Regions from separate parts of the Homo sapiens genome. Here all the other regions are linked to region 1. Evidence: promoter capture Hi-C in 16 types of primary human blood cells and fetal thymus (Javierre and others, 2016). All regions are on one chromosome and are shown on one strand. The core of a region is centred on a gene start or on the middle of the fragment in contact, and the rest is flanking DNA. Distances in the headings are between cores, read along the strand shown. Region 1 holds the start of GTSF1L (gametocyte specific factor 1 like). Region 2 has its middle 89 kb from the start of JPH2. Region 3 has its middle 110 kb from the start of JPH2. Region 4 overlaps TOX2 (TOX high mobility group box family member 2).

Region 1 (5,171 bases), core at 1,787-4,286:
ACCCTCAGCATGAACCTGCAAAGCTTGCCTGTTGCCCAGGGTTGGTGGGGCTGCCTTTCCCCACTGCCTGGTGGCCAGCTGCCTTTTGGGAGCTTGGAGGATACCTACAGAATGCTCCAGGCTGCCACTACATAGTGACAGACGTCAGCTCTATCTTGCTCTGTCTTGACAGAGCCCCTGTGGGTAGCGCTTCCACTAGGCTCACTCCCTTATGGCCCAATTCAGGGAGTTTCAGGAAGAGTAAGTTTTCCTGGTCCTGTTGGCCTATGGTTTATAGACATATATTCTCCACATCACTTTTTCCCCCTATTTCCTGTATGTCAGTTCTCTAGTTCATGCACTTCATTAATCACTGCCATCCAGAACTTTTTATCCCCCCAAGAAGTCTTTGTTTATAATACTTCGTGTAAGCAGTTGAAGGGGCCAGCTGGGTGGCAAAGTTATGATTACTTAAAAAAAAAAAAAAAAAGCAGTGAGCCTAGGCAACATAGTGAGACCCCATCTCTACAAAAAAATAGAACTAGCCAGTTATGGTGGTGCACGCCTGTGGTCCCAGCTAGTTGTTAGGCTTTGACGAGAGGATTGCTTGAGCCTTAGAGGTTGAGGCTACAGTGAGCTATGATTGCGCCACTGCACACCAGCCTGGGCGACAGAGCGAGGACTCTGTCTCAACAAAAAAACAAAAAAAAAACTTAACAGTTAAGATTTCCTCCTGAAAAACTTTCAAAGGACTTAAGTCTTCTACCTGCTGTTTAAAAAAATATAGTTTAATTTTTGACCAGATAACATATTCATATATATTCCCATGTAAAAGATTCTAAAGAGTCAATAGTAAAGAAGGGCTCTCTCTTGTCTTCCCTGGAGGCAGACAATATCAGTTTCTAGTGAAGAGGCAAGCAAATTTTTCTATTAGGCAACAGGTTGAAAAATTTCAGGCTTTGTGGACAGATCTCCATTCTAGAGTATCCTTAAAGAGAAATTTTATGCAAAAACAAGCACATACATATTCATGTCTTCTCCCGCAACTCTCCCCAAATGGTGGCATACTGTATAGACTGCTCTGGACTTGTTTTTGTTTTTTCTTTTCTTTTTCCTTTTTTTTTTTTGAGACAAAGTCTCGCTCTGTCACCCAGGCTGGATTGCAATGGCGTGATCTCGGCTAACTGCAGCCTCTGCTCCCGGGTTCAAGCTATTCTCCTGCCTCAGCCTCTTGAGTAGCTGGGATTACAGGTGCCCACCACACGCCCGGCTAAATTTTGTATTTTTAGTAGAGATGGGGTTTTGCCATGTTGGCCAGGCTGGCCTCGAACTCCACACCTCAGGTGATTGGCCCGCCTCCGGCTCCCAAAGTGCTGGGATTACAGGCATGAGCCACCGGGCCCGGCCTGGACTTGGTTTTTATCAGTTAAACTGGGGGTTGGCAAACCATGGCCCACCAGTCAAGTCCAGCCTGCCACCTGTGGCTGTAAGGCATTTTATTGGAACCTCTGTTCATTTGTTTACATATTATATGTGGCTGCTCTCGTGTTGCAGTGGCAGGGCCGAGTAGTTGCAACACAGACTGTGTGGCTGACAAAGGCTAAGATATTTGCCATCTGGCCTTTTACAGAAACAGTTTGCTGACCTCTGAGCTCAACAGTGTGTCTCAACCTTTCTATATCAGCACAGAAAGAGCTTCCTCACTTTTTTTAAGGCGGCATAATATTTTGTTGTATGGCTGCAGTATAACTTATTTTTAATCAGGCCCTTTTAATGGATATTTAGGTCATTTTTGACTTTTTTTTTTGTTGCTTAAGACAGGATCTCACTATGTTGCCCAGGCTGAACTCAAGCGATCCTCTCGCCTCAGCTCCCAGAGTAACAGGCTACAGCTGTGATTCAACACACCTGGCTCATTTCTAACTCTTTTGCTGCTGCAAATAATGCTGCAGTGAATAAGCTAGTACTTAGCTCATTTTCCACATGTGTGATTATATTTACAGAATGAAGCCTGGAAGTGGAATTGCTCAATCAAAGCCTGTATGCATTGATAATGTTTATAGCTATTGTCAAATTGCCCTCTGTGGAGGTTGTACCAACTGACATTCTCACCAATGTTATGAAAGTGCCCATTTTGCCCTACCTTTGCCAGCAGAGTATTTTAAGCCTTTTGATATTTATCAATCTGCCAGGTTAAAAAAAGAGGTAGCCCAGGGTAGTTTACTTTGCATGTCTTTTATTCTGATGCATTGCACGTTCTTCCATGCATTGATGAGGCGTGTGCTCCTTCCTCAGCTGGCAGTTTACTGTCCTGGTCTGAGGATCTTCTGGGGACTGGTCTCTCTTGCTGACTCTTTCGTGTCATTTTCACAAACAACCTTTTGAGGAAAAAAAGTCTTAAGGACAAACACATGCTGGCAATTAGCGCCATCGACATTCCAGATATCGGGGCTGGGAAGGCAGGGTGAGACCTGCTGGGTGTCATCGTTCTGCTCTGAACTAGGAGGACTGACTTTCAGAGGGTTCTCGGTGTCCTCTTCTTCCACAGCGCTCCTGTTGACACAAACAGCCTCATGTTCCTCCAGATTTTTGATGGGGACCACGTGGCAGGCGTTGTATTTGCAGGTGGCCATCTTTTTGGCTTTCTTGGGGTTCTTTCTCCTGCACGATGCCAGGTGGTACTGGAATCTGCTGAGTGGGATTCGGTGGTGAGGATCATAAGGGCAAATTTCAAAGGCTTCTGGCTCCATGAGAAATTCTTGAAGCAGGGTATCTCACTGCTAGAGTCTAACGGAAATGCTTCTTGTGGAGAAGCCCTTTTGTAAGAAGGATGGAGTTGTCCTCTGCCCAGTTTTGGCCCTTGGGATTCTGTAGGTGACGGTCTTAACTTGTGGTCTGTTCTCTAGGACTGTGAGTGGTGGATTAGAAGAGAGATGAGGAGCTGCCAAAAGCAGCTACACAGAGAACAGAGTTAGCAAATGGCACCCGAGACAGAACTATAGCAGATGCAAGAGCCAAAAACCCACAGCCGCTTGACTCACGGATATACTATGATGTCAAGCTGCAGTCACCGGTGGTCACAATGGGCAGCCTAAGTCATCAGGAAGAGGCTATTGTGCACTGCTTGGGAGGGGTGGATGGCTTTGGGAATGCTGCCATCTAAAATTGCTCATGGATGTATGTTGTGACTTAAGTCTTTTAACTGTACGTATTTGTTTTTTGTTTTTGTTTTTGTTTTATTTGAGACAGAGTCTCGCTCTGTTGCCAGGCTGGAGTACAGTGGTGCGATCTTGGCCCACTGCAATCTCCGCCTCCCAGGTTCAAGTGATTCTCCTGCCTCAGGCTCCCGAGTAGCTGGGATTACAGGCACCTGCCATCATGCCCGGCTAATTTTTTGTATTTTTAGTAGAGACGGGTTTCACCATGTTGGCCAGGCTGGTCTTGAACTCCTGACCTCAGGTGATCCACCCGCCTCAGCCCCCCAAAGTGCTGGGATGATAGGTGTGAGCCCCTGCGCTTTGCCAGGGCTGGTTTTTGGATGTGATTCTCAGGGCCGTCTTTCTTTACCCTTCTGCTCTGCTGAGGCCCACAGCAGCCTAGTCTCCTTGGGTGTGGGGGAAGGGTTTAAATCTATTCATATATCGCAGAAGGTGAAGCCTTTTGGTGTTCAGCTTAACATGGGAAACATTTCCTATAAAACGCCCCATCTTAGGTCGACCCTGCCGTTGTCCCTCACAGAACTGGACCAAAGTCTGAATGGACGCAATTGACACATATCTCAGGGTGTTAGTGGTTTTGGTCCTCTGACATTCTATTTACATGTCTGGTGTTAGGTAGGATTTCTTCTAAAAATTGGCCTGGAGCTCCTTCCCACCCCCCACCCTGTTAAATTGTTTCTCAAGATCTGAGTGACAGTAGAGAAATACCATATTCCTGAATAGGAAGACTCAAAATCATAAATGAATATTCTCTGTAAACTAAATTACATAAATTACATAGTCATCCTAAATTGATACATAAATATAATGCAATTCCAAATAATTTTTGTAGCTTTATGTGCTGATATCTGATAGAGCAAGTCTCTGCTTGTTATTAGTTTTCCCCCCAAAAGCCTTGACTATCTTCAAGGATTTGTTATTCTAGATCATGTGTCAACAAACTATGGGCCCATGATTCAAATCCAGATGGCTATCTGCTTTTGTAAATAAAGTTTTATTGAAGCACAGCCACACCCATTTGTTTATATATTGTCCATTGGCTGCTTTTGAGCTAGATTTGAGTAGTTGCAACAGAATCCAGATGACCTAGAAACCTCTAATGTTTTCTGTCTGGCCCATTATAGAAAAAGCTCACCCATCCTATTCTTGGTGGTGGTTAAGGAAGCTGACTGTATTCAAATTCTACCTCCTGCCACTTACCAGCCATGTGACCTTGGGGAAGGTGTGTGTGTGAGTGTGTGTGTGTGTATGTGTGTGTGTGTGTTTCCTGGTATTTACTAAGCTCTATTGATGGTGTCTTTTCAGGTAGGCTTTGTAGTTTTCTTTCTATTTTTTGCACGTTAAAAAAAAATTAATCTATGATGCTTTATGGTTTTTTCTTTTTCTTTTTTTTTTGTCATTGTAAATGACACTTTTTCCATCTCTCCACATCCTAGCTATGGTGTTCAGCCTTTTTTGAGAATTGAAGTGATTGGCTTTGTCTACATTGTTACATAATTGCAACTGATCATACATGTGGGATGTCTTGTTACTATCATATGACATGCAGACAATTTAGCAACATGACACTCACTGATGTCATAGTAAGAAATTGTAATGGGAACCCAGGTATAGACAAAAGATTAGACAAAGGATTCTAAAAAAAGGCATCTTTCATAACTACACCATTTATTCTGGGTGTGCCAGTCAGGATAGGCAAGGTTAGGCTGCAATAACGTACAGTGCCAAAACTTCAGTAGCTTAAAACAACGAAGGCTTATGAGTCACTTTCAAGTCTAAAGCAGGTTTCTGGGTTGGGGAGGGGTATTGGGGATCTGCTCCTTGTGGTTAATGGAGCCAGGCTGATGGAGCCTCCATAGCAACACTTGCTTCCTTCTAGAAGAAGGAAGAGGATGTGGGGAGTCATGCGCGAGCTTCCACCAGGAAATGATAAACATCACTTCCGCTACTGTTTCATGGTTCAAAGTAAGTCCT
Region 2 (5,171 bases), core at 1,164-3,663, 370 kb after region 1:
CCAGCCTGGCCAACATGGTGAAACCCCATCTCCACTAAAAACACAAAAATTAGCTGGGCATGGTGGCAGGCGCCTGTAATCCCAGCTACTCGGGAGGGTGAGGCAAGAGAATCACCTGAACTCAGGGGCGGATGTTGCAGTGAGCCGCGATGGTGCCACTGCACTCTAGCCTGGGCAACAGAGTGAAACTCCATCTCAAAAAAAAATAAATAAAATAAAACAAAAATAAAATAAACATACATCCTCTTTATACAATGCTTTTGGAGAGAGACTGATCGTATGATGCAAATCACTCCAGACTGGGAATAACAGTTAAATTTGAGTCTCTGTCCATCAGTGATAAACAAGATGAAGTTAATTAGATTCAAATATTTTATTTTCAAGCATAAAATAGGACATTCACAAGACACGCTGAGGTTTTTTTTCTAGCTCTAAAACATAACATGATCCTAAATATATTTAGACAACCAAAAATGATATCAGAGACATGAGAAAATCTGGCAAGATAGTGATTTCAAGAGGTGGACCCAGCTCACCCTCTGTATTCATTTTCTACTATTTTACTATTAAATTTCCTGGTATTAAAAATTACCAAAACGTAGTGGATTAAAACAACACAAATGTCTTACCTTACCTTATTATCTCATAGTTTTGTGGGCCAGAGTCCAGCAAGGGTCTCACTGGGCTGAGATTAAGGTGTCAGCAGGGCCGTGTGCCTTTCAGGAAGCTGTAGGAGGGTATCTGCTTCCTGGCCTCTTCCAGCCTCCAGAGACCCCCTTCCTCCATCTTCAAAGCCGGCAACATAGTGTGTAGGTGACCCTACTTCCATCACCACATCCCTTTCTCCGACCGCAGCTGCCACTGGTTGTCTGCTCTTAAGGAGCCGTGTGATTAGATTGGATCCACCTGGATAATCCAGGCTACTCGCCCCAACTCAAGGACAGATGATAGCAACTTTAGTCAATTCCCTTTTGCCATGCAAGGTAACATGCTCACAGGTGCTGGGGACTAGGACGTGGACATTGTATTAGGCCATTCTTGCCTTGCTATAAAGGAACACCTGAGACTGGGTAATTTACAAGAAAAGAGGTTTAATTGGCTCATGGTTCTATAGGTTTACAGTTTCAAAGATGGCATCAGCATCTATCCAGCTTCTGGGGAGGCTTTGAGGGGGCTTTTACTCATGGCGGAAGATGAAGGGAAGCAGTCTGTTACATGGTGACAGCAGGAGAAAGAGAGGGAGGTGGAGTGGGAGGGAGGGGGGTGCCACACACCTTTAAACAATCAGATCTTCTGATAACTCACTCACTATCACCAGGACAGCACCCTCTTTTCCACAATCTTGATGGAGTAACTCCAATTCTAGAGCTAGCAGGTTAGTGAAGCTTAGAAAGGGCATTTGATTTTGTTTTTAATCATCCCTATCCAGCTCCTGTCCTGTTCCCCAAATCTCCAGGGCTCAAAGCCTAGATGATCCTTTATTTCCTATAAAACAAAACATGCGATGGCAAAAGCTCATGTCTCCACCAGGCCTTAAGACCAAGGACTTCCTGGGCTCCCTGAGGGAGTCTGCTCAGTGGATGCTTTTGAATTATCTATACCAGGGACTGGCAAACCTTTTCTGTAAGGGACAGAAAGGAAATATTTTAGGCTTTGCGGGCCACATGGTATCTATCACAACTATTCTGTTACCAGATGGAGGGCCTTGAGTGTGAGTTGTCCGGGTCCTCAGTGTTTTGAACAAAGAATTGGACAAAACACACAAAGTGACAAACGAATGAAACAAAGCAACAAAGCAGTGAAAGCAGGGAATGATATTTTATTTTATTCATTTATTTATTTTTGAGACAGAGTCTCACTCTGTCGCCCAGGCTGGAGTGCAGTGGTGTGATCTTGGCTCACTGCAACCTCTGCCTCCTGGGCTCACGCCATTCTCCGAAAGCGAGATTTATTAAAGTGGAAAGCGCTCCACAGGTGGGAGTGGGCCCAAGCAAGCAGCTCACGGGCCTGGTTACGAAGTTTTCTGGGTTTTAACGACTCCTTTTGAGGGCCCTATCGGCTACAAAAATGAGTACCAAACTCATGTCTTGCTTTATAGAAAATAAAGGATCATCTAGGCTTTGGATCCTGGAGATTTGGGGAACAGGACAGGAGCCGGATGTCAGGTCCACAACTACGCCAAATGTCCTGCTTGGGGTCAGGTTCGGGCCCATACTGAGGTCCAAGGGGAGTGGGCGGATGGGCAGATAGGTGAAAAACACTGGGCGGGTGCCATAGGCAGGTGAAATGTAGTTTTATTCAGCAGCTCTCTCATCAACAGCTCTTACACACTCTTCTCTCATCAGTAGTTTTCTCACACCGTCCGCCCTGTTTTAGCTGCTTGAGTGGGCTGCTCCCATACACCGCTGTGCTGCCGGCTCTCCCTTGCCTTCAGGGTCAGCAGCTTAACTCTTTCTCTGGGCACAAGCTGGTTCCGGGCTCCCCACTGCCCACCTGCAAGACGGACAGCTTTGGCTCTCTCTTCCTCTGGGCACCAGCGCACCCAACCACGTCAAGCCATGCCCAAGAGCCAAGCCCAGCCATGTCCCCAGAGCCCCGTGCAGTGTCAGCAGGGCAGTCATACCTTTTACAGACAATAGTGGCGTAGAGCCAAGTATGAACTTACACAAACAGTTATATAACAAGTGGAGGTGTGAGCCTGCACCCCAACCCTGCTGAGTCATGCAGGCCTGGATGTCTGCCTCGGCCTATTCCTTGACCAAAGCACATCCATGTGAAGGAAATAATGTATACAGTGGTCCATTTCCAAGATAAAGTGCCTTGAATTGGCTTAGGTCAGCAAACTACAGAAGAAACAAGATATACTAGGCCCCTGCTTGGATAGCCGATGCCTGCTTGTCGGCCTCTCCCTTCTCCCCTTCCTCCCTTGCTTAGTTGCCCTCACTCAAACCAAAGACATTTAGTCTAAAATGAAAGTTTACTAGCCTGCAAAATAGCTCACTTTGTCAGTTCTTATCGGCCTGCCCAGCTACTTAGGTCATTAGGTCATAAGACAAATGCTTAAAAAGCCCCTGAGCTAACTAGGATTGCAATACATTGTGGGCTGCAACAAAATGCCACAAGACAACCCTAAAAAAGAACACCTAAAGCCCCTACCCACCATCACTAGGCAAAGTCCGGGAAGAGTGTGACCCCACAGTACTCAGCCTTTGAGGAACCGGTGGAGAGACCTGTGCACTAGAGGATGAATTGCTTGTTGTGACTGCGCTGGGTGTGCCTGCTCATTAGACACCCAGTCTTGCAAGACCGTCATTAAAAGTCTCACTTTCACTATTCTCTGGGTCTCTAAGTCCATTCTTGAGTTCGAACGCATGAATTTGTTCCTCACACATGTACCTTACACTGGATAGGGCTGATTAAAAACAAAATCAAATACACCTTCTAAGCTTCACTTTCCTGCTAGCTCTAGAGTTGGAGTTACTCCATCAAGATTGTGGAAGAGAGTGTGGTAGGAAGAATAATGGCACCGCTGAAGATGTCCATTCTTTATCTGGATGAAGGATTTGGCCCATGGCTAATTAAAGCTGAAGTGAATTGGTCCGCAGTCATCTGGAGACGGAGTGGATCGGCACCCTACGCAGATGGGGGGATGGCTAGCACTTGGCCCACAGCCAATCCAAGGCACTTTCCTTTCCATCTGAGACATGGTGGAAGGTTGTATGGAGAGTAACCTTTGATTCTTTGTTATCCCAGCATGGCAAGATGGAGTTTTTCCTTTTGGCTTAGCTTTTGGAAGTGGGTGTTAATTGGTCTTAGAGTCCCTGCCCCCAGACCCAAGTGTTTCCCTTTTGATCCAGCCTTAGGAAGTCAGCACACATTGGCCTTAAGTTGCCTGGTCCAAACCCTATTCTCCTGCCTCAGTTCAATCTGTCAATATGAAGGTTGAAAATACATCATTAAATGAGCATAGCTGTGGGCCAATAGAACTTTATTCATAACACTGAAATGTGAATTTTACATGATTTTTCACATCATGAACTAGTCTTCCTTTGTTTCCCACCCTAACCATTTAAAACAGTAAAAACCAGCTGGGCATGGTGGCTCATGCCTTTAACCCCAGTACTTTGGGAGGCCAAGGTGGGCGGATCACTTGAGGCCAGGAGTTCGAGACCAGCCTGGCCAACATGGTGAAACCCTGTCTTTACTAAAAATACAAAAATTATCTGGGCATGATGACTCATGCCTGTGATCCCAGCTACTCAGGAGGCTGGGGCAGGAGAAGTGCTTGAACCCGGGAGCTGGAGGTTGCAGTGAGCCAAGATCCCACCACTGCACTCCAGCCTGGGTGACAGAGTGATACTCTGTTTCAAAAATACATACATACATACATACATACATACATACATACATACATACATATGTAAAAACTGTTCTTAGCTCAAAGACCAAAAAAAAAAACAAATCAGACATCGGGCCAGATTTTGCCCACCAGCCATGTTTTGCCAGCCTCTGATATTCACAAAGGGCTGTCTTCTGTCTGCTGAGTGTGGCGTTATTTGGCTCAATACCATGGACCTGAAGCAGGCAGGACTCAAATCTCTGCAGCTGGGAGAGTTTTTAAATGCAGCTACAAAGTTTTCCTGAATATTAGATATATTTGCAAGTTGCCAGCTTGTTAGATAAGCACTCACAGGGCGTTCTGCTCGCTGCTAGTTTGCCCTGATCAACACTTTTATGTCGTGACCTATAAGAAAGCTCAGAGAACCTAGTGGCCAGGAATAGCAAAGGAAAATAGTTACGAGAGGAGGTAATTACCCTCTCTACCACCAAGAGATAGAGGATGGAGGGTGGAGGTTAAAAGGGTGGGCCCTGGAGTCACGGTAAATTACTCGGGGTAAATCATGTAAATTTTCTGGCCACCAGTTTCCTCATCTGCATAATAGGGATGATGATAGTGTCTGTCTAATTATATCGTTGATAGGATTACATGTTATCATGCATTTAAAAGACTTAGTGTCTGCTTGTTAGTTTTTAAGTGGTTGGTTTTCACTACCTCCACTATTAACTACCCTGGCATAAAAAAGCAAAAGGAAAAAGAAAGGCAATTTGTACAATTAACTCCTAAAGAAGGTGAAAGAGTTAGTGGAAGAGATGAGAAAACTTTAATAACA
Region 3 (5,171 bases), core at 1,478-3,977, 350 kb after region 1:
CGGCCTCCCAAAGTGCTAGGACTACAGGCGTGAGCCTAGCCGATTTTTAAATGCCTTTTAGTCACTTCTTTTCATGGAAAAAGAGGATTTAGTGCTCCTCCTCCATCTTGCTTCCCCCTGTGTCCTCCCAGTGAACTACATAATCATGGTGGTTAATCAATATTCCAGGCTTACATTATTCCTATTCTGTAACTCATGTTTGCTGATGGGTCAAGCTACATATTTTTTTCCTTGAATAATTTTTCATTTTTGTTTTTCGTGTGCTTAATTTTCCTCCCTGTCACTCATTTTCCCCCAAAGCTCAGAGCTGTAAACCCCTTCTGATTATGGCCAGACACTTTGTGCTCCAATTTGATCTCTTTCTCAGGCAGATTCCAGCCATCATCAGATGCTTCCTTTTATTACTTAGCAAATCCCCTTGCTTTTCTCTATCATGGGTCCTCTCTTTGCAGGATTCCATCCATTCCTCCTTCCTATCTTGCTTCTTCATTGTGGTGGAACACATCTTCCAGGCCCTTTCTAAGAAAGGATGGATGAGAAATAAAGGTGCAGTTCTGCAAATGTTTTCATCTTACCCTCACACTTGATTGGTGGTTTGGCTGGGTAAAGACATCTAGGCTGAAAATAACTTTCTCTCTGAATTTTGAAGGCACGGCTTCATTGACTTCTCATTTCCAGCCTTGCTGCTGTTGAGCGTTGAATATTATTCTGCCTCCCATTTCTTTGTATACTGCTTACTTTTTGCCCCCTTCTCTGGTAACTTTTAGATTTTCTCTTCATCCACCATGTCTTGAAATCTCACAGGGATTTAGGTGGGTCTTCCCTGGCTTTGCGGGTGGTAGGTGGACCCTTCCAATCTGAAGAGAGCCAGACTGCATCTCCCCTTCCAGCTTCCTCTTACTCCTAGACCATCTTTTTGAATTTAGAAACCAAGAATTTGGCTTCTTTATGCTCTCATCTATGAAGAAGTGGTTTTCATCACTAATAGTAAGAGTGTAACAAACGAAGCACATTCATTAATTCCTCCACACACGTGTCTTCCACAGGGGAGTGGGGAGTAGGAGGGTGGTCTCCAAGCTCCTTCCTCCTCCCCTGTCAGGCTGGCTTTTTATTTTTATTTTTTTTTTTTTGAGACAGGGTCTTACTCTGTTACCCAGGCTGGAGTGCAGTGACGCCATCTCAGCTCACTGCAGCTGCAACCTCCTGGGCTCCAGCGATCTCCACACCTAAGCCTCCCGAGTAGCGGAGACTACAGACACGTATCACCACACCTGGCTAATTTTTGTAGAGACAGGGTCTCACTATGTTGGCCAGGCTGGTCTTGAACTCCTGAGCTCAAGCGATCCTCCCGTCTCGGCCTCCCAAAGTGCTGGGATCACATGCATGAGCTACAGTGCCCTGCGAGGCCGGCTGTTGACCACACTTACATCCTCAACTCCGCCCACCTTTGATGGACAGCATATTAGTCAGCCTGGGCTGCCATAACAACAGAAATGGTTTAAACAACAGAAATTAATTTTCTCACTGTTCTGGAGACTGGGAGTCAAAGGTCAAGGTGCTAGCAGGCTTTGTTTCTTCTGAGGCCTCTCTAGATGACCACCTTCTGTGTCCTCACATGGCCATCCCTCTGCGCCTGTCCACCTCTGGGGTCTCTCTGCATGTCTGAGTCTCGTCTTCTTTGAGAACACCTGGTAGGTTGAATTAGGGCCCATCCTAATGGCCTCATTTTTAACGTAATCACCTCTTTAAAGGCCCCGTCTCCAAATACAGTCATATTCTGAGGCACCGGGGGTTCGAACTTCAACATGTGAGTTTGGGGGAACACAGTTCAGTCCCTGTAGATGGGGTGCTCAATAATGATTAGAAACCCCACGGTGCTGGTTAAATCTAACCACTGGTTCATGGGCCAGGTGAAAGGAAACAGACGCAAATCAGGAAGGATTCTGTGTGAGTGCACAGTAGCCAGGTCACTCTTCTGGGAGGGTATTGCAAAGTCGAAACGCGGCATGCTCCACCTCCAGCTCACCACCGTCCAGCCCAGGAAATCCACAGGTCTTTGCAGGTGCCATGCACGCTATGCTGACACAGCACAAGGGACACTTACTGATAGGTCCTGGGAGGACACTGAAGGACAGGACTGCCTCCCGCATCTCCACAGTGACTCTTGGCCACACCATTTGTTACATTTCCTGGGTGCCTTCCTAAACCTCCAAGCTGCCCTGGAATCCCTTGACTCCCATCTACAATATATTATTAGTATAAAGGGAGTCGACGAACTCACAACCACAAGCTGCAAATTCCAGTGACGTCAGGGTCAGGCAGATAACATAAGCAAAGGAAGGAGACAGAGGGACGGACATATGAGAGAGAGTGATGAGGACTGGGGCTAAGTGGAGAGGGACTGCCCTGCCAAAAAGCATTTAAATTCAATGCGTGTTGGAACACCATCCCAGCCAAAAAACAAAACAAAACAAAAAAAAACCAACCAAACACAAACCAACCAACAAAACCAAGTTTGCTGACCAAATGCAGCCTCCAAGCATCTAGTTGGTGATCTCCACTGAGGATATATGGTTAAGAGGACAGGCTTTGAAGACACAGACCTGATTTTGAATTTCACTGTTTCTGTGAAACAGTCTGGTCCAAATGTTAGAGATGTGTGAGAAATATATGAAATAAAGCATGTAGTGCTTAGTGCAGTCCTGACACATAGCAAGTGCTAAGTTAATAGTAGCTATTAATATTACTGTGGTAAATAAGAAAGTAGTGACGTGATTCTAAGCCTTCACTTCTCAGGAACAGTGCGGAGAGTACTCACGTGTGGAGTGGTGGTGCCTCCTGGTGGTCATAATTAGGAACTGCAGAGCAGTGTAGCAGGCCTAACAGAATGATTAGGAGCCAAGAGGGCTAATTTACGGTCAGACAATGGGTTTGACTCCAGTTCTGCCATCTGCGAGTAGGTGACACAGGTCATTCACCTCCATGCTTAGCCTCCATATTCAACTGCCCTACACCTACAACCCCACGGAGTGGCTCTGACAACTTAACAAGACAATATGATATCACTTTTAAGGGCTTTACTGCATACTAAGTGCTACGATCCTAGGATGATCCTGGCATGATGTCAGAACTCAGAACACCGCAGCACCACACTGCCAACATCCTTCTCTCTTGTGAGAAGGTGAAACAGGTGGGTCCCCAGTTGTTACTTATTTTTTCTTTTATTGGGTGGCAATGAGAAGGGGTTACTCTGGACCGGAGCCCCTGACCAGAAAAATAGATCTGCTGTATCACCTGAAATTCACTGGAGCAAAATATTCCTTTGAGTTATGCATTGCTCTATCCAGACTTCTCTTTTAAACCGGAAGTTCCCCCAGAAGGGTGACTGTATTAGTTCCAAATACCCACATGAGCATGAGTTTATCAGCTGCTCCCCTCCCTGACAGGAGGAGGGGACTGGGGGACACTTTGTGCTGTCATTACCTCCGTTTGGGACCCCTGCCCCAGTCACAGCCTTCTGCCCACTTGCCATTGCTGGCCTACAGAGCTGGCTTCCTGCCTGCCTGTGATGGGAGACCCTGCCTTCAAGCTGGCTGAGTTGTCCCCAGGAGGTAGAGAACCAGAGGCCAGGCCTGACCTCAGACTGCAGGGTCCCCTCTCCCACGGCCCTCTGGGGAAGCTCCCCGCACCCAGGCCTCCTCAGCCCTGCCCCTCCTCCCCAGGTCCTGAGCTCTTCTTCCAGCAAACAGCGGCAGCATCTGCCTGGAAACACAGGAAAGGTGCCTCCACTTGTATCCTTTCCTGCCGCCAGATGGAGAAATAAAAACAGGAATAACAGATCCCACTGCCAGAGCACGTGTGCTGGGGCCTCTGCTGGGCACTGCAGACCCATTGGCTCATTTCATCATCTCGCCAACCCCATGTGATAGATGCAATGATTGTTCACATTTCACAGATGAGAAAACTGAGGCTCAGAAGGGTGAGTGAGTTGCCGAAGGTCACAGAGCTTGACAGCGGGGGAGCCTGGGTGGGAACCAGGCAGACCAATGCCTGACCCTTCACCATGGTGCAATGTTTACCCAATGGGAAGCCATCCCTTCCACCTCCAAATCCAAGAGGCTGCTGCTGACCAAGATCCAGCCCATTACCCTACTGTCAGATTGATCACATGAGCATGAATTATCAAACTGACACTCTGACCCACCCTGACAAATGTCACTGGCCAAATGTGTGACTGGTCATAACTGACAGATGGACAGACATTTGGCTTGGGAAAGCTAGGACCTGGCTAATGTTTGCTTTTAAAAGATCTTAATTTTTTTTTTCATTTTAAATTGAGGTATAATTTACAGCCTCTAAAATGCCCACATTTTAGATTGATGTACAGTTGATGTGGTTTTGTTTTCTTGTTTTTGAGATGGAGGGTTGCGTCTTGCTCTGTTGCCCAGGCTGGAACGTAGTGGCGTGATGTTGGCTCACTGCAACCTCCACCTCCTGGGGTCAAGGGATTCTCCTGCCTCAGCCTCCCGAGTAGCAGGGATTACAGGCATGCACCACCACACCTGGCTAATTTTTGTATTTTTAGTAGACATGGGGTTTCACCATGTTGGTTAGGCTGGTCTTCAACTCCTGACCTCAGGCGATTGGCCCACCTCAGCCTCTCAAGTGCTGGGATTACAGGTGTGCGCCACCCCGCCTGGCCAGATTGATGAGTTTGATACACGTGTATGTCCCAGTCAAGCTACAGGACATTCCTGTCACCCTAGAAATCTCTCACACCCCTTTCCAGCCAACCCCTGCCCCCACTGCTCTAGGCAGCCACTGCTCTGATTTCTGTCACTACAGCTAGGTTTTGCCTCTTCTAGAATTTCATACAAATGGAAGTACTGGGTATGTACATATTTATGTGTCTGCTTCCTTCACTTAATGGCTTTTAAGTTCATCCATGTTGTTCCCTGCATGTCTTTAATTTCTTCCTTTTTGTCCCTGAACAGGATTCCATTTTAAGCGATCGGGCACAGTTTGTTTTTCTGTTATCCTGTTGAGAGTCATGTGTGTTGTTTCTAGGTTTTGACAATTATGCCTAAAGCTGCTATGAACATTCTTGTACAAGTCTTTTTGCACATATGTTTTCATTTATTTTGGGTAAATACGTGGGAGTTTAAATGCTT
Region 4 (5,171 bases), core at 1,073-3,572, 340 kb after region 1:
GTACATAAACTAGAAAACCTAGAGGAGATGGATAAATTCCTGGAAATATACAACCCTCCTAGATTAAACCAGACCAATAACAAGCAGTGAGATTGAAATGGTAATTAAAAAGTTACCAACAAAAAAAGGCCAGGACCAGATAGATTCAGAGCTGAATTCTATCAGACTTTTAAAGGACACTATTCCACAAAATAAAGAGGGAATCCTTCCTAAATTATTCTATGAAGCCAGTCAATCACCCTAATACCCAAACCAGGAAAGGACATAACAACAACAAAAAAACGAAAACTGCAGGCCAGTATTCCTTCTATGCCCAAAATCAGCATAGAAGGGATATACTTCAAGGTAATAAAAGCCATCTATGATAAACCAGAGCCAACATTATAGTGAATGGGGAAAAATTGAAAGCATTCCCCTTGAGAACTGGAACAAGACAAGGATGCCCACTCTTACCACTTCTATTCAACAGAGTACTGGAATTCCTAGCCAGAGCAATCAGACAAGAGAAAGAAAGAGCATCCAAATCTGTAAAGAGGAAGTCAAAGTGTTGCTGTTTGCTGATGATATGATTGTATACCTAGATGAACATGAATGCAAAAATCCTCAGTACAATACTAGCTAACTGAATCCAATGTTGTATCAGAAAGATAATCCACCATGATCAAGTGGGTTTCATACCATGGATGCAGGGATGGTTTAACATACACGAGTCAATAAATGTGATATACCACATAAACAGAATTTAAAACCACATGATCATCTCAATAGACACAGAAAAAGCATTTGACAAAATTGAGCATCCCTTTGATTAAAACCCTCAGCAAAATCGGCATAGAAGGGACATACCTTAAGGTAATAAAAGCCATCTATGATAAATCCAGAGCCAACATTACACTGAATGGGGAAAAGTTGAAAGCATTCCCCCTGAGAACTAGAACAAGACAAGGATGCCCATTTATTCGATGCAGTACTGGAAGTCCTGGCCAGAGCAATCAGACAAGAGAAAGAAATAAAGGGCACCAAATCAGTAAAGAGGAAGTCAAACTGTCACTGTTTGCTGATGGGATTATCATATACCTAGAAAACCCTAAAGACTCATCCAAAAAGCTCCTAGAACTGGTAAATGAATTCAGCAAAGTTTCAAGATACAAAATTAATGTACACAAATCAATAGATCTGCTATACACCAACAGTGACCAAGCTGAGAATCACATCAAGAACTCAACCCCCTTTAACTGCAAAATAAATAAATAAATAAATAAATAAATAAATAAATAAATGAATAAATAAAATACTTAGGAATATACCTAACCAAGGAGGTGGAAGACCTCTACAAGGAAAACTACAAAACACTGCTGAAAGAAATCGTAGATGAAACAAATGGAAACACATCCCATGCTCATGGATGGGTAGAATCAATAGTGTGAAAATGACCATACTGCCAAAAGCAATCTATAAATTAAATGCAATTCCCATCAAAACACCACCAACATTCTTCACAGAACTAGAAAAAACAATCCTAAAATTCATGTGGAATCAAAAAAGAGCCCTCATAGCCAAAGCATGACTAAGCAAAAAGAACAAATCTGGAGGCATCACATTACCCGACTTCAAACTATATGGCCATAGTCACCAAAACAGCATGGTACTGGTATAAAAATAGGCATATAGACCATGGAAAAGATTAGAGAACCCAGATATAAAGCCAAATCCTTACAACCAACTGATCTTTAACAAAGCAAACAATAACATGAAGTGGGGAAAGGACACCTTATTCAACAAATGGTGCTTGGATAATTGGCAAGCCACATGTAGAAGAGTGAAACTGGATCCTCATCTCTCACCTTATACAAAAATCAACTCAAAATGGATGGAAGACTTAAATCTAAGACCTGAAACCCTAAAAATTCTAGAAGATAACACTGGAAAAACCCTTCCACAGACATTGGCTTAGGCAAAGACTTCATGACCAAGAACCCAAAAGCAAATGCAACAAAAACAAAGGTAAATAGATGGGACTTAATTAAACTAAAAAGCTGCACAGCAAAAGAACCAGCAGGGTAAACAGACAACCCACAGAGTGGGAGAAAATCTTCACAATCTATACTTTCGACAAAGGACTAATATCCAGAATCTACAAAGGAACTCAAATCAGCAAGAAAAAAACAATCCCATCAAAAATTGGGCTAAGGAGATGAATAGAGAATTCTCAAAAGAAAATATACAAATGGCCAACAAACATATTAAAAAATACTTAACATCATTATGATCAGGGAAATGCAAATCAAAACCACCTTACTCCTGCAAGAATGTCCATAATCAAAAAATAGATGTTGGCATGGATGTGGCAAAAAGGGAACACTTTTACACTGTTGGTGGGAATATAAACTAGTACATCCACTGTGAAAAACAGTGTGGAAATTCCCCAAAGAACTAAAAGTAGATCTACTGTTTGACCCAGCAATCCCACTGCTTGGTATCCACCCAGAGGAGAAGAAATTTTACAAAAAAGATACTTGCACATGTTTGTAGCAGCCCAATTTGCAATTGCAAAAATATGGAACCAGCCCAAATGCCCATCAATCAATGAGTAAAGAAAATGTGCTACATATATATACACACATATATATGTACACACACACACATATACATATATATGTACACACACACACACACAAACACCATGAAATACTACTCAGCCATAAAAAGGAAGGAAATAATGGCATTTGCAGCAACCTGGATGGAATTGGAGACAATTATTCTAAGTGAAGTAACTCAGGAATGGAAAACCAAACATTGTATGTTCTCATAAGTGGGAACTAAGCTATGAGGACACAAAGGCATAAGAATGATACAATGGACTTTGGGGACTTGGGGAAAAGGATGGTAGTGAAGGATAAAAGACTATCATCAGGTACAGTGTACACTGCTCAGGTGGTAGGTTCACCAACATCTCAGAAATCACCATTAAAGAACTTATTCATATACAAAAAAAATTTTTAAATAAGAGTTCCAAGAGTAGCAAGAGGGCTCACCAATATGTGATCACTTTGTCAGTCTCTGCATGCATCACATTTGTGCTTGTCTTATTGGCCAACACAAGTCACACAAGGCTAAGCTCCAAGTCATTTGCACCTCCTCGTTTCTACCAAAAGCCATGGAAACAAGGAGGTGCGAACAAACTGGGACCAGTCCTACAATAACATATGAACCTAGGTCTAAAATTTTTAATAAAAAATATTAGCAAACCGAATCCAAACTAACATACTATGAACAAGTAGGTTCATTCTAGGTTGCGAAGGTGGTTCGGCATTAAGAAATCTGCACTGTGCTGGCTCAGAATGGGGGCTTCAAAGGGCATTGTCTTTCTGTGATCAGTTGTGCTGATAGAACCTGGAGGCCCAGAGAGATGAAGCATGTTGGCCAAGGCCACACAGTGACTTGGCTGAGGAACTGGGATATGGCCTGGTCTCCACAATTTCTCTGCAGCGCTCCCAGAAAGGGGCCAGTGGCTGGCTGACTCAGCTTCTGACCCCACCACCCTCGTCCATTCGTGATCCTTGAATCCATGCCTTCCCACCCCAGGACCCTGCACGGCATCTCCTCTGTAACTTTCTCCCCAGTGTTGCTCATGTGTTGACTCTTCCAGGCCTACAAGAGGAAGACAGAAGCAGCAAAGAAGGAATATCTGAAGGCCCTGGCAGCCTACCGGGCTAGCCTCGTCTCCAAGGTAACACCCGGAATCTCCAGGCACAGCCCTGATCAGAGTGGGGCCACTTGAGGAATGGAGCAAGAACTGGGGCCCGTGGGAAGGGCCGGCACCCCAGGTCTTAGAAAGAATGGCTCAGACCTACATGGTCATGTCTGCAGGGCACCTACAGCATGCCAGGCTCATTCTGGGCACTTTACATGCATTTCATTGGCTTCTTCCAACAAGAACCCAGCACCCAGAGGGGTTGAGCAACTTGCCTGAAAAGATCCAGTTTGTTAAAGTGGCCGCACTAGGATTCAAACCCAGTTTTGCCAGTTTTATGTGGCCTTCACTTCTGACCGCTGATGGGGCTTGGGACACGCTACCCCAAAATATGGCACCTCCTCACCACACCGTCGGCCTCCTCTGTCAACACCAGCAACGTAGGAAGCTAAGTGTGGCTGCGGATGCGTGGCCCAAGTGGAGGTGGGTGTTGTTCCTGGTACAGAAGAGATGGCATCCAAACTGGTCTATAACAGGCCAAGTAAAAGGTGGTTCAAAGTCAAGGGAAAAACATCTACAAAGGCACAGAGGTTGGAAGGAGCATGATTAGAGCTGGCTCAGTGGGATGGTGCTTGTCTCACTGGCCAGGCTGAGGAGCATGGATTCCCCCAAGGGCAGGGGAGCCCCCCAAAGATAAAAGCAGTAGGTGACTGGATGGTCAGAGCCAAGGGGACTAAGGACCCTGTGCTATCTCTGGTTAGTCCAAGCTCTCTCCCAAGACAGCCAGCCAGCAGCCGTGTCAGTGGGTTGCAGAGCCTCCTGGCCTCACAGCCCATGTTCTGGCTCATCCCTCTTCTGTTCTCCAGTGACTGATATCTGTCTCCTTCCAGAGCTCCCCAGATCAAGGTGAGACCAAGAGCACTCAGGCAAACCCACCAGCCAAAATGCTCCCACCCAAGCAGCCCATGTATGCCATGCCAGGCCTGGCCTCCTTCCTGACGCCGTCGGACCTGCAGGCCTTCCGCAGTGGGGCCTCCCCTGCCAGCCTCGCCCGGACGCTGGGCTCCAAGTCTCTGCTGCCAGGCCTCAGTGCGTCCCCGCCGCCGCCACCCTCCTTCCCGCTCAGCCCCACACTGCACCAGCAGCTGTCACTGCCCCCTCACGCCCAGGGCGCCCTCCTCAGTCCACCTGTTAGCATGTCCCCAGCCCCCCAGCCCCCTGTCCTGCCCACCCCCATGGCACTCCAGGTGCAGCTGGCGATGAGCCCCTCACCTCCAGGGCCACAGGTAAGCAGGGAAGAGCAGAACAGCCCTTCTGTGACCGTGTGGGGAGGGGAAGCGGCTTTGCCCTTTCAAACCCTGGCCCTGCCACTCACCAGTGATATAACCTCAGCCTTGGCACCTGACCTCTCTGAGCCTCAGTTACCACATCTAGGAAGTGGGTCTCGCACACCTTACCTGAGATGTGCTGGCTGCAG

The links. Contacts are between HindIII fragments. The CHiCAGO score rates a contact against its expected background, and 5 or more counts as called.
Region 2: a contact is called between a fragment that was not itself captured here and the fragment with the promoter of GTSF1L in region 1, in 2 of 17 cell types (non-activated CD4 T cells and M2 macrophages). The highest score is 7.2, in non-activated CD4 T cells.
Region 3: a contact is called between a fragment that was not itself captured here and the fragment with the promoter of GTSF1L in region 1, in 1 of 17 cell types (endothelial precursors). The highest score is 5.1, in endothelial precursors.
Region 4: a contact is called between a fragment that was not itself captured here and the fragment with the promoter of GTSF1L in region 1, in 2 of 17 cell types (non-activated CD4 T cells and activated CD4 T cells). The highest score is 7.2, in non-activated CD4 T cells.

The regions. Positions count from the first base shown.
Region 1 is chr20:43,723,966-43,729,136 of GRCh38, forward strand. It overlaps GTSF1L (gametocyte specific factor 1 like), which reads right to left and starts at 3,037. Exons shown (of 1, transcript NM_176791.4): 1 at 2,199-3,037. The coding sequence starts at 2,729. The coding sequence ends at 2,283. LOC101927200 (a long non-coding RNA gene) reads left to right here and starts at 4,954. Exons shown (of 4, transcript XR_936741.3): 1 at 4,954-5,162. The HindIII fragment of the contact is 9,111 bases long and covers 22-5,171 here.
Region 2 is chr20:44,095,206-44,100,376 of GRCh38, forward strand. No RefSeq gene overlaps it. Among named protein-coding and RNA genes, the nearest start is that of JPH2, 89 kb to the right of the region's middle. The HindIII fragment of the contact is 2,061 bases long and covers 1,384-3,444 here.
Region 3 is chr20:44,078,094-44,083,264 of GRCh38, forward strand. No RefSeq gene overlaps it. Among named protein-coding and RNA genes, the nearest start is that of JPH2, 110 kb to the right of the region's middle. The HindIII fragment of the contact is 6,228 bases long and covers 1-5,171 here.
Region 4 is chr20:44,061,128-44,066,298 of GRCh38, forward strand. It overlaps TOX2 (TOX high mobility group box family member 2), which reads left to right. Exons shown (of 9, transcript NM_001098797.2): 6 at 3,650-3,730; 7 at 4,585-4,980. Among named protein-coding and RNA genes, the nearest start is that of JPH2, 120 kb to the right of the region's middle. The HindIII fragment of the contact is 7,560 bases long and covers 1-5,171 here.